Linked DNA regions of Homo sapiens: region 1 is linked to region 2. The links are contacts of gene promoters, found by promoter capture Hi-C in human tissues and cell types (Jung and others, 2019). All regions are on one chromosome and are shown on one strand. The core of a region is centred on a gene start or on the middle of the fragment in contact, and the rest is flanking DNA. Distances in the headings are between cores, read along the strand shown. Region 1 holds the start of NOL9 (nucleolar protein 9). Region 2 overlaps ACOT7 (acyl-CoA thioesterase 7).

Region 1 (5,458 bases), core at 1,097-3,596, 190 kb after region 2:
GAAGAATGGATGCTGGGCTTAATACATAGGTGATGTGTTGATCTGTGCAGCAAACCACCAAGGCACCCATTTAACTACGTAATAAATCTGCACACCCTGCGTATGTACCCTGGAACTTAAAAGTGCTGGGATTACAGGCGTGAGCCACCACACCCGGCCGATATTTGATTTTCTGTACCTGAATTAGTTTGCTGAAGATAACGGCTTCCAGCTCCATCCAAGTCCCTGCAAAGGACATGATCTCATCCCTTTTTATGGCTGCAGCCTTTTAAATTTTTTAATTTTATTTAATTTTTATTTATTTATTTATTTTTGGGACAGTATCAGCTTACCACAACCTCCACCTCCCAGGTTAAAGCAATTCTCCTGCCTCTGCCTCCAGAGTAGCTGGGATTACAGGCGTGTGCCACCACATCTCAAACTCCTGACCTCAGGTGATCCGCCCACCTAGGCCTCCAAAAGTGCTGGGATTACAGGCGTGAGCCACTAGACAGGGTTTCGCCATATTGGCCAGGCTGGTCTCGAACTCGCTACCTCAGGTGATCCACCCACCTCAGCCTCCAAAAGTGCTGGGATTACAGGCGTGAGCCACTGTGCCCAGCTCTCTCTTTTCCTTTTCCTTTCTTTCTTTTCCCCTCCCTCCTTCCTTTCTTCCTTTCTTTCGAGACGGAGTCTCACTCTGTCGCCCAGGCTGGAGTGCAATGGCGTGATCTTGGCTCACTGCAACCTCCAGCTCCCGGGTTCAAGCAAGTCTCCTGCCTTAGCCTCCTGAGTAGCTGGGATTACAGGCGTGTGCTACCATGCCCAGCTAATTTTTGTATTTTTAGTAGAGATGAGGTTTCACCATGTTGGTCAGGCTGGTCTCAAACTCCTGACCTCAGATGATCTGCCAGCTTCGGCTTCCCAAAGTGCCGGGACTACAGGCCTGAGCCACCGCGCCTGGCCCATACTTTATATTTTTAAACTAAGATCATACCCCATGGCAGCTACAGAGAAAGCATGGTGACCGTGAACTCGGCTCTGTGCTCCTGGTTCAGACAGACTCTACCACTCTGTCCTTTTAAAGACCCACAGCTTGCCAAGTCTCTTCCAGAACTTCCTGGGTTTTGCCTTCCCTCCTGCATTAGACAGGGAATCTCCAGGAATGGCATCCACGTTAAGAATCAGGCTGCCTGAGTTCGACTCCTAGCTCTCCCTCTACTGTGTAAGTTACCCAACCTCAGTCTCCTCGTCTGTAAACACTTAGAGAGAGGGACAACTACTCCGTAAGAGAGCTGGATGTTTAAATGGGTTCAAAGCCTAAAACACTTTTGGAACCCTTAAATCCTGGAATTTCTGAGCTCTCAGTAATTGCAACCTTTTTTTTTTTTAACTATTAAAATCCCTTTCAGAGTTCCAGGTGCGGTGGTTCACACCTGTAATCCCAGCACTTTGAGAGGCCGAGGCGGGTGGATCACAAGGTCAGGAGATCGAGACTATCCTGGCTAACATGGCGAAACCCCGTTTCTACTAAAAATACAAAAAATATAGCCGGGCGAGGTGGCACGCGCCTGTAGTCCCAACTACTCCGGAGGCTGAGGCAGGGGAATCGCTTCAACCCGGGATGCGGAGGTTGCAGTGAGCCGAGATTGTGCCACTGCACTCCAGCCTGGGGGACAGAGTGAGACTCTGTCTCAAAAAGAAAAAGAAAGAAAGAAAACAAAACAAAATAAAGTCCCTTTAGCTCGTAAGGCCTAGGGACCCCTTAGCAGGGTACCTGTTACCCTGCTGCTCAGGGGAGCCTAGTTGCCACCAACCATCAAGAGGATGGACTTGAATCCGACTGGCAGCCAGAGAACAGGCCCGGGGGACCACGGTCCTCTCCTACCCTGCAGCTCTCCCGGGGCTGCCTCTCCAGCCCTCCCTGCCCTCGGGGACTACTACCGGCGCCCCCCACCTACCTGCTCGACCGGCAGCAGCAGCAACGCGCGGCCGGGGCCCACGGGCCGCACCGGTGGGATGAGGAGAGGCCGGTGGCAACTCGAGGCGGATTCGAGTTCGGGTTCGGACTCGGGTTCGGAGGCCGGGGTCGGGCTAGGGATCGGGCTGGGGGTCGCGGTGTTGGGTCTCCGGGCCGCCGCCGCGCGCGACACCTGGCGGGCTCCCTCCCTCCAGTCCACGCCGGACGCCTGGGCTTGCAGTAACCGCCACCGTAGGCGCCGCCGACCGCACCAGCGCAGGCTCCCGAGCCGGCGGCGGGGCCGGCGGCTGAGGATGAGCTGGGGCCGGGCCTTGCGGACCCGCAGCCAAGTGGAACGGCAGGAACCCCGCTTTAGCAGCAGTCCCGAGTCCGCCATGCTGGGTCCTCAGGGCCTACCGCGCGAGAATCTCGCGAGATCCCGTCGGTCCGCCCCGCTGCCCTCCCAGCTGCCGAAAAGAGGGGCCTCCGAGCCGCCGGCGCCCTCTGCCGGCAACCTCCGGAAGCACACTAGGAGGTTCCAGCCGATCTGGTCGAGGGGCTCCACGGAGGACTCCATTTACGTTACGCAAATTCCCTACCCCAGCCGGCCGGAGAGAGAAAGCCAGAAACCTCGCGACCAGCCATGGGCCACCTCTCCGGAAAAACACCGGGATATTTTTTTTCTCCTGCAGAAAAAGCTTTAGGATTGGCAGTTTAAACAAAACATGTCTATTTGCATACCTTCGGTTTGCATGCATTTGTTTCGAAGTGAGCAACCCTGGGTAACAAGGCGAAAGTATATGACAATTTGCTCAGAATCTTAATGTCAGAAAACTGGAGACTGGGGCAGGGGGGTGTCGACTCAAAGCTGTGTCTCATTTAGTAAACTGAGGCCCAGGTAAAAAGTTCTGAAACCTCGCAACACCCGGAGAAATTGTGTTCCAGCCTCCCACCTCGCCCCAAAATGCCAGAGCTCCTTTTCTAAGCCAGGTGAAGTCACAGAGCGTGGACAGAACCCACAACCGTCCAGAGGAAGGGTCACTGGGTGCCACCTGGTTTGCATCTGTGCCTTCGTCCTGCCCAGTTCCTGAGTGGGACCGCAGGCCCGGAATGTCAAGGCAAACAGTCCTGCTTCAGCCACTGGGCTCCAGTCCCACCCCTTTTGGGGGCCTGAAGTTAGGAAGCATCCGGCAGCTGCCTTCTATTTAAGCAACTGGCCTCCTTAGAGGCCACTCCTTGGCCATGCCAGGCGCGGGCATCTGGCCAGCATGCTGCTCTGCACGGCTCGCCTGGTCGGCCTGCAGCTTCTCATTTCCTGCTGCTGGGCCTTTGCCTGCCATAGCACGGAGTCTTCTCCTGACTTCACCCTCCCCGGAGATTACCTCCTGGCAGGCCTGTTCCCTCTCCATTCTGGCTGTCTGCAGGTGAGGCACAGACCCGAGGTGACCCTGTGTGACAGGTGAGTGAGGGGCCAGCAGAGCCACACTTAGTGGGACCCCTGGCTATAGGGCCCCTCTGGCTGCCATCCTCCAAACAGGACCTTGCCTCTGCCTTTGCCCCTTGAACTGTCCCCAGGCCTTGTTCATCAATCCACTTGCCACCTAAGTGCTGGCTAGACCTTCCTAGACACTTCGGCCAGTTTCCAATTATTTCACCCTTGCTGTTAGAATGTGTTGTATTGTAACTTCATTGAAATTGGTTCTTGGCTTTGTACCATACCTAGGTGGCCAGGCCTAAGCAAGGGCAGCTTTTTCCCTCTTCTTTTTTTTTTTTTTTTTTTTTTTGAGACGGAGTCTCGCTCTTTCACCCAGGTGGGACTGCAGTGGCGCGATCTCAGCTCACTGCAAGCTCCGCCTTCCGGGTTCACGCCATTCTCCTGCCTCAGCCTCCCGAGTAGCTGGGACTACAGGCACCCGCCACTGCGCCCAGCTAATGTTTTGTATTTTTAGTAGAGACGGGGTTTCACCGTGTTAGCCAGAATGGTCTCGATCTCCTGACCTCGTGATCTGCCCACCTCGGCCTCCCAAAGTGCTGGGATTACAGGCGTGAGCCACCGCGCCCAGCCGCTTTTTCCCTCTTCTATCTTCTCTCCACTCCTACCCATGTTCAAAGTTCCCTAGAGTCCCAGATGACAAGTAGGATTCTCCATGGTTCTTCATGGGGTGGGAAGGGAAGACACATCCCATTAGATGCTTTAGGAGCTTGACAAATATAAATTAGGTTGGTGCCATCATGAAGTCAACAATCTAGGTAGAGGGAAACTACTGCTTTTCTTTTATTTCTATCTATCTATCTATCTATCTATATTTTTTTGAGATGGAGACTCAGTCTGTCATCCAGGCTGGAGTGCAGTGGCATAATCTTGACTCACTGCAACCTCCTCCTCCTGGGCTCAAGTGATTCTCATGCCTTAGCCTCGGGAGTAGCTGGAATTATAGGCATGTGTCACCATACCCAGCTAATTTTTGTATTTTTCGTAGAGACAGGGGTTTCACCATGTTGGTCAGGCTGGTCTCGAACTCCCGACCTCAGGTGATCCGCCCACCTCGGCCTCCCAAAGTGCTAGGATTATAGGCTTGAGCCACCGCGCCCGGCCTGCTTTTCTTTTAAAGAAGACAGTTGCAGCCGAGCACAGTGGCTCACGCCTGTAATCCCAGCACTTTGGGAGGCTGAGACAGGCGGATCACGAGGTCAGGAGTTCAAGATCAGTCTGGCCAACATAGTGAAACCCTGTCTCTACATAAAATACAACACATTAGCCGGGTGTGGTGGTGTGCACCTGTAATCCCAGCTACTCAGGAGCCTGAGGCAGGAGAATCGCATGAACCCGGAGGTGGAGGTTGCAGTGAGCCAAGATCACACCATTGCATTCCAACCCGGGCGACAGAGCGAGGCTCCATCTCAAAAAAAAAAAAAAAAAAAAAGACGAAGACAGTTGCTTGCAGACTGTGGAAGTCACAGACCCAGAGGCCCAAGAATGCTGCCGAGGCTTGGCTGCAGGATGTCCTACCCATGAAGCACACGAGATGGTTGGCTCAGGAAGAAGTTTCTGGAAATCTAGTGTATGACGACCTACTCGAAGGGCTACAGCTAGAAACCTGGATAAAGAGATAAAGAGAATGGGCTGGGAAGAGAGATTGGGTAGAGCAGGAGGAGGGAAGACATGAAAACCGGCTTCAGATACCTGAAGAATTGTCTCAGGCAGGAGGCACGAACCCTCCGTTGAGAGACTCGGGACAGAAGTGGTAGAAACCATGGAAGACCTTCTAACAAGCAAGAGGCTGGAAAATGGAACAGGCTAGCACACTTTATGTATTTGTTTGTTTATTTGTTTATTTATAGAGATGAGGTCTTGCTCTTTCCCCCAGGCTGGAGTGTAGTGGTGCAATCATAGCTCACTGCAGCCTTACTTGGGCCTCATTGAAGCTCAAGTGATTCTCCTGCCCCAGCCTCCCAAGTAGCTGGGACTACAGGCATGCACCACCACTCCTGGCTAATTTTTTAATTTTTTGTTGAGAA
Region 2 (5,987 bases), core at 2,099-4,598:
AAACTCACTGCCTCATGCTAGAGGAAGCTGGTAGGGTCAGAAACTTACATCCAGGCTCCAGAAAGATCTCTCAGAGCTCAATGTGAAAAAAACAAATGACCTTTGGCTAGGCGCGGTCGTGCACGCCTGTAATCCCAGCACTTTGGGAGGCTGAGGTGGGCAGATGGCTAGAGCTCAGGAGCTGGAGACTCTTCTAGGCAACATGGTGAGACCCCATCTCTACCAAAAATCCAAAAAAATTAGCCGAGCATGGTGGTGAGCACTGCGGGTGGCAAGCCATCCAGGTGCCGAGGCAAGAGACCAAGGGCATGAGCTTTTCCAGTATAATAAAATATATAAAACAGTAAGAATTATACTAGATCTAGATCATAGACGTGATTATATATGAATATCATTAATCATTAATTTGTAGCAATTACTCTTTATTCCAATATTATAATAATCCTCGCTCTATAATCATAACCTAGGAAAAACCAGGCTATACAGAGATGGGAGCTGAGGGGACATGGTGAGAAGTGACCAGAAGACAAGTGCGAGCCTTCTGTTATGCCCGGACAGGGCCACCAGAGGGCTCCTTGGTCTAGCGGTAACGCCAGCGTCTGGGAAGACGCCCGTTGCCAGGCAGACCGTGGTTCCAGCAGTAGCGTCAGTGCCAAAGAAAAACACCCGCCACTTAGCAGACCAGGAAAGGGAGTCTCCCTTTCCCCCGGGGAGTTTAGAGAAGACTACTCCTCCACCTCTTGTGGAGGGCCTGACATCAGTCAGGCCTGCCCGCAGTTATCCGGAGGCCTGTCTCCCTGTGATGCTGTGCTTCAGTGGTCACGCTCCTAGTCCACTTTCATGTTCCATCCTGCACACCTGGCTCTGCCTTTTAGATAACAGTAGCAAATTAGTGAAAGTACTAAAAGTCCCTGATATGCAGAAATAATGGCGTAAGCTGTCTCTCTCTCTCTCCCTCTCTCTCTGCCTTGGCTGCCAGGCAGGGAAGGGCCCCCTGTCCAGTGCACATGTGACCCACGTGACCTTACCTATCATTGGAGATGATTCACACTCTTTACCCCTCCCCTTTTGCCTTGTATCCAATAAATAACAGCACAGCCAGGCATTCGGGGACACTACCGGTCTCTGCATCTTGGTGGTAGTTGTCCCCCGGGCCCAGCTGTCTTTTATCTCTTTGTCTTGTGTCTTTATTTCTACAATCTCTCATCTCCCCACATGGGGAGAAAAGCCACCGACCCTGTGGGTTTTCTGTGGTCCCAGCTACTCAGGGGGTCCCAGCTGCACCTGTGGTCCCAGCTACTCAGGGGGCTGAGGTGGTAGGATCACTTGAGCTGGGAGGTCAAGGCTGCAGTGGGCCAAGATTGAATTCCAGCCTGGATGACAGAGCGAGACCTTGTCTCAAAAAAGGCTAGATGCAGTGACTCACACCTGTAATCCCACCACTTTGGGAGGCTGAGGCAGGAGGATCACTTGAGCCCAGGAATTCCAGGCCGGCCTGGGCAACAAGACGAGACTCCACCTCTAGAAAAAAAGAAAAGATATTCAACATCATTAGACATTAGGAAAATACAAAAGTAACATCTAAAAGCAATTATCGGCGAGGTGTGGTGGCTCACACCTGTAATCCCAGCACTTTGGGAGGCCAAGGCAGGTGGATCACCTGAGGTCGGGCGTTCAAGACCAGCCTGACCAACATGGAAAAACCCCATCTCTACTAAAAATACAAAATTAGCTGGGCGTGATGGTGCATGCATGTAATCCCAGCTACTCGGGAGGCTGAGGCAGGAGAATCCCTTGAAGCCGGGAGGCAGAAGTTGCAGTGAGCCAAGATCATGCCATTGCACTCCAGCCAGGGTGACAGAGCAAGAGACTCTGTCTCAAAAAAAAAAAAAAGCCCAGCATTTGGCCTGGCGCAGTGGCTCACGCCTGTAATCCCAGCACTTTGGGAGGCCGAGGTGGGCAGATCACGAGGTCAAGAAATCGAGACTATCCTGGCCAACATGGTGAAACCTCATCCCTACTAAAAATACAAAAATTAGTTGGGCGTGGTTGCGCTCACCTGTAGTCCCAGCTACTCGGGAGGCTGAGGCAGGAGAATCACTTGAACCCGGGAGGCGGAGGTTGCAGTGAGCCAAGATCACGCCACTGCACTCCGGCCTGGGGACAGAGCGAGACTCCATCTCAAAAAAAAAAAAAAAAAAAAAAAAAAATTAGCCAGGCATGGTGGTGGGAGCCTGTAATCCCAGGTACTCAGGAGGCTGAGGAAGCAGAATCGCTTAAACCCGGGAGGCAGAGGTTGCAGTGAGCTGAGATCGCCCCACTGCACTCCAGCCTGAGCAACAAGAGTGAGACTCCGTCTCAAAAAAAAAAAGGAAAGGAATGAATAACTGATACATGCAACCATGTGGATGAATCTCCAAGTAATCGTGCTGAGCAAGGGAGGCTGGACAAAAAGAGAACTGTGCAAGTCCATGTTTATAAACTTGGAGGAAACACAAACTATAGTGACAGAAAGCAGATCAGAGGTTGCCTGGGGGCAGGGAGGGACCAGAGAAGCAGAGGGCCTCAGCAGGGTGACAGGTCTGTTCACAGTCTCGGTCTTGATTGTGGTGAAGGCTTCACAGGCTCACACAGGCATACCTCAGAGATATTACGGGTTTGGTTCCAGATCACCGCAACAAAGCACACATTGCACTTTATAATAAGTCACATGATTTTTTTGGTTTCCCAGTGCACGTAAAAGTTACACTGTAGTCTATTAAGTGTATAATAGCATTATGCCTTAAAAAAAAGTATATACCTTCATTTAAAAACACTTTATTGCAATCGGGCATGGTGGCTCACACCTGTAATCCCAGCACTTTGGGAGGCCAAGGTGGGTGGATCACAAGGTCAGGAGATCGAGACCATCCTGGCTAACACGGTGAAACCCCATCTCTACTAAAAAACAAAAAATTAGCCCGGCATGGTAGTGGGCGCCTGTAGTCCCAGCTACTCGGGAGGCTGAGGCAGAAGAATGGCGTAAACCCGGGAGGCGGAGCTTGCAGTGAGCCGAGATCGCACCACTGCACTCCAGCCTGGGCAACAGAGCAAGACCCCATCTCAAAAAAAAAAAAAAAATTTATTGCTAAAAAATGCTAACAATCATCTGAGCCTTCAGTGAGTGGTATTCTTTTTGCTGGCAGAGTCTTGCCTCGATGTTGATGGCTGCAGACTGATTCATATTGTTTTGGGGTTTATTTTTTTTTTTTGAGACAGTCTCATTCTATAGCCCAGGCTGGAATGCAGTGGCACGATCTTGGCTCACTGCAACCTCTGCCTCCCGGGTTCAAGTGGTTCTCCTACCTCAGCCTCCCAAGTAGCTAGGATTACAGGCACGCGTCACCACGCCCAGCTAATTTTTTGTATTTTTAGTAGAGACAGGGTCTCACTATGTTGGCCATGCTGGTCTTGAACTCCTGACCTCAGGTGATCCGCCCACCTCAGCCTCCCAAAGTGCTGGGATTACCGCCCGGCCTGCAGACTGATTAGGATGGCGACTGCTGAAGGCTGGGATGGCTGTGGCAGTTCCTTAAAATAAGACAACAATGACATTGACCACATCAATTGACCCTTCTTTCCACAAAATATTTCTCTGGGCCAGGCACGGTGGCTCATGTCTGTAATCCCAGCACTTTGGGACCCCGAGGTGGGAGAATCGCTTGTGCCCAGGAGTTCCAGACCAGCCTGGGCAATATAAGGAGATGCTGTCTCTAAAAATAAAAATTAAAAAATTAGCTACTCATGGTGGCACTTGCCTGTGGTCCCAGTTACTTGAGAGGCTAAGGGTGGGAGGATCCCTTCAGCTCAAGAGGTCAAAGCTGCAGTGAGCTGTGATTGCACCACTGCACTCCAGCCCGGGTGACAGAGTGGGAGCCTATCTCAAATAAAAAAAAAAAAAAAGATTTCTCTGTAGCATGCAATGTTTGATAGCATTTTACCCACAGTAGAACTTACTTTTTTTTTTTTTTGAGACAGAGTCTCACTCTGTCAGCCAGGCTGGAGTACAGTGGCATGATCTCGGCTCACTGCAACCTCCGTCTCCCGAGTTCAAGTGATTCCCCTGGCTCAGCCTCCTGAGTAGCTGGGACTACAGGTGTGCACCACCACACCAGGCTAATTTTTTGTATTTTAGTAGAGATGGGGAGAACATGTCAGCCAAGATGGTCTCGATCTCCTAGACCAGCCCAGTAGAACTTTCAAAAGTGGAGTCAGGCCGGGCGCGGTGGCTCATGCCTGTAATCCCAGCACTTTGGGAGGCCGAGGCAGGCGGATCACGAGGTCAGGAGATGGAGACCATGATGGCTAACATGGTGAAACCCCTTCTCTACTAAAAATATAAAAAAATTAGCTGGGCATGGTGGCAGGCACCTGTAGTCCCAGCTACTCGGGAGGCTGAGGCAAGAGAATTGCGTGAACCCAGAAGGCAGAGCTTGCAGTGAGCTGAGATCGCACCACTGCACTCCAGCCTGGGCGACAGAGCGAGACTCCATTTCAAAAAAAAAAAAAAAAGTGGAGTCAGTCCTCTTAAAACCTATGTTGTTTTATCAACTAAGTTTATGGAATATTCTAAATCCTTTTGTTATGGGATCTTTGGGGTATCCCTTTTCTGGCCAGAAACCTCTGTGTCTTGTGGCACCTTTGCCTAAGTTTTGCTGGGGCCCACTGGGCTTATTCCACCCACTCAGCCTGGCAGGCTGCGCTTGGCTCATGCTACCAGCCTGGAGCTCCCATGCCTGCCAAGGACAAGCCTGGTGTGGAGCAGCGAGCAGTGTGTGAGTGAGCATGGAGTACGGCCACTGCACAGTCAGACATGCCAGCTGCTGCTGCAGGGCAGGCAGCTCCAGATGCTGGCACAGGTGCTGGTTCTCTGCAAGGCTGCACCTGGACCAAGCGCACCTCAAGCAGCTTGCCTGGTTGGCACACGGGAATGCTGTGGTGCCTGGAAGCTTGGTGACGCCAGGAACTGCAGGGCCCCAAAGAGGGAGTCACAACCCTGACTCAGGGAGCTCCCAGGTCTGGACTCCCCAAAGGGCCACAGCTCTTCTTTCCTTCCCTTCACTGGCAACGTGGCAAGAAGGGGCATGTTTCAGCCCTGTTTGTGTTACAGTTCTTTCAGCCTCACCATTTGGCAGGTCCCGAGTTCTTGCCCTGTGACCAGGAAGAATGAGGTACGCAGAAAAATGGAGAGTGAGCAAGACAAAGAGGAGCTTTATTGAGTCACAGCCAGGTCATCCCAGTGAGTGTTCAGCTCTCAGCAGAGAGGGTAGCTCTTCTTTGCAGCTGGTCATCCTGTCATCTTTCTGTCCTCTGCTCTAGTCTGGCTGAGTCCGGGGTTTTTATGGGCCTCAGAGTGGAGGAAGTGTGTGTTGACTGGTCCATGGGTGGGCCAGCAAAAAGCACCACAAGCTTCCCCTCTGGTCCTCGGGACTGGCCAGCCAACCCCCAGGCTTCAGGCCCTCCCCAGTTTGAAGGTGAGGCTTCACTGGGGACCAGACCCCTTCTACCCAGGAGCCTGTCTGTCTCTCGCCACTGTTCATGGCATCCAGGCTGTTTGTGCCAGCCTATCCTCAGCCCCCACTTGGCCTCCCTCCCATGCCTGTTGGTGCCCAAAGTCTGAAGGGCACCATCAGCAGGGTGGGTGCGGTGGCTGCACCGCAGTCCAGGTCCCCAAAGTGAATGCCGCTCCCACTTCCCGCCCCAGGGCCCTGAAGCATAACCCAAGCTCTGCATCCCAGGCCCAGCCCCCACACTCCATATGCAGGTGCAGCATCACCCCAGGCCCAGCTCCACCTTGGGGCCCCTCTCTGCCCGCACCTCCATGCCCAATCATGCTGCTTCCCCACCAGCAGGCAACTCAGCCTGGCCCCGTTGTGGTGGCTCCCAGGGCAGTGGGCTCTGGGAGACTCCCAGGGGTAGACTCCAGGGACTGACTATTTCCTCTGCAC

Evidence for each region. Contacts are between HindIII fragments. The study calls those that stand out against the background at their distance.
Region 1: the fragment with the promoter of NOL9 here is called in contact with a fragment that was not itself captured in region 2 in 1 of the 25 tissues and cell types used here (spleen).

The regions. Positions count from the first base shown.
Region 1 is chr1:6,552,167-6,557,624 of GRCh38, forward strand. NOL9 (nucleolar protein 9) reads right to left here and starts at 2,347. Exons shown (of 12, transcript NM_024654.5): 1 at 1,941-2,347. The coding sequence starts at 2,336. TAS1R1 (taste 1 receptor member 1) reads left to right here and starts at 3,141. Exons shown (of 6, transcript NM_138697.4): 1 at 3,141-3,398. The coding sequence starts at 3,208. RefSeq lists an enhancer at 158-658 and a silencer at 2,053-2,312. The HindIII fragment of the contact is 18,414 bases long and covers 1-5,458 here.
Region 2 is chr1:6,362,664-6,368,650 of GRCh38, forward strand. All of the region lies in intron 1 of ACOT7 (acyl-CoA thioesterase 7), which reads right to left. Among named protein-coding and RNA genes, the nearest start is that of ACOT7, 28 kb to the right of the region's middle. RefSeq lists enhancers at 1,884-2,383, 5,056-5,836. The HindIII fragment of the contact is 3,740 bases long and covers 1,479-5,218 here.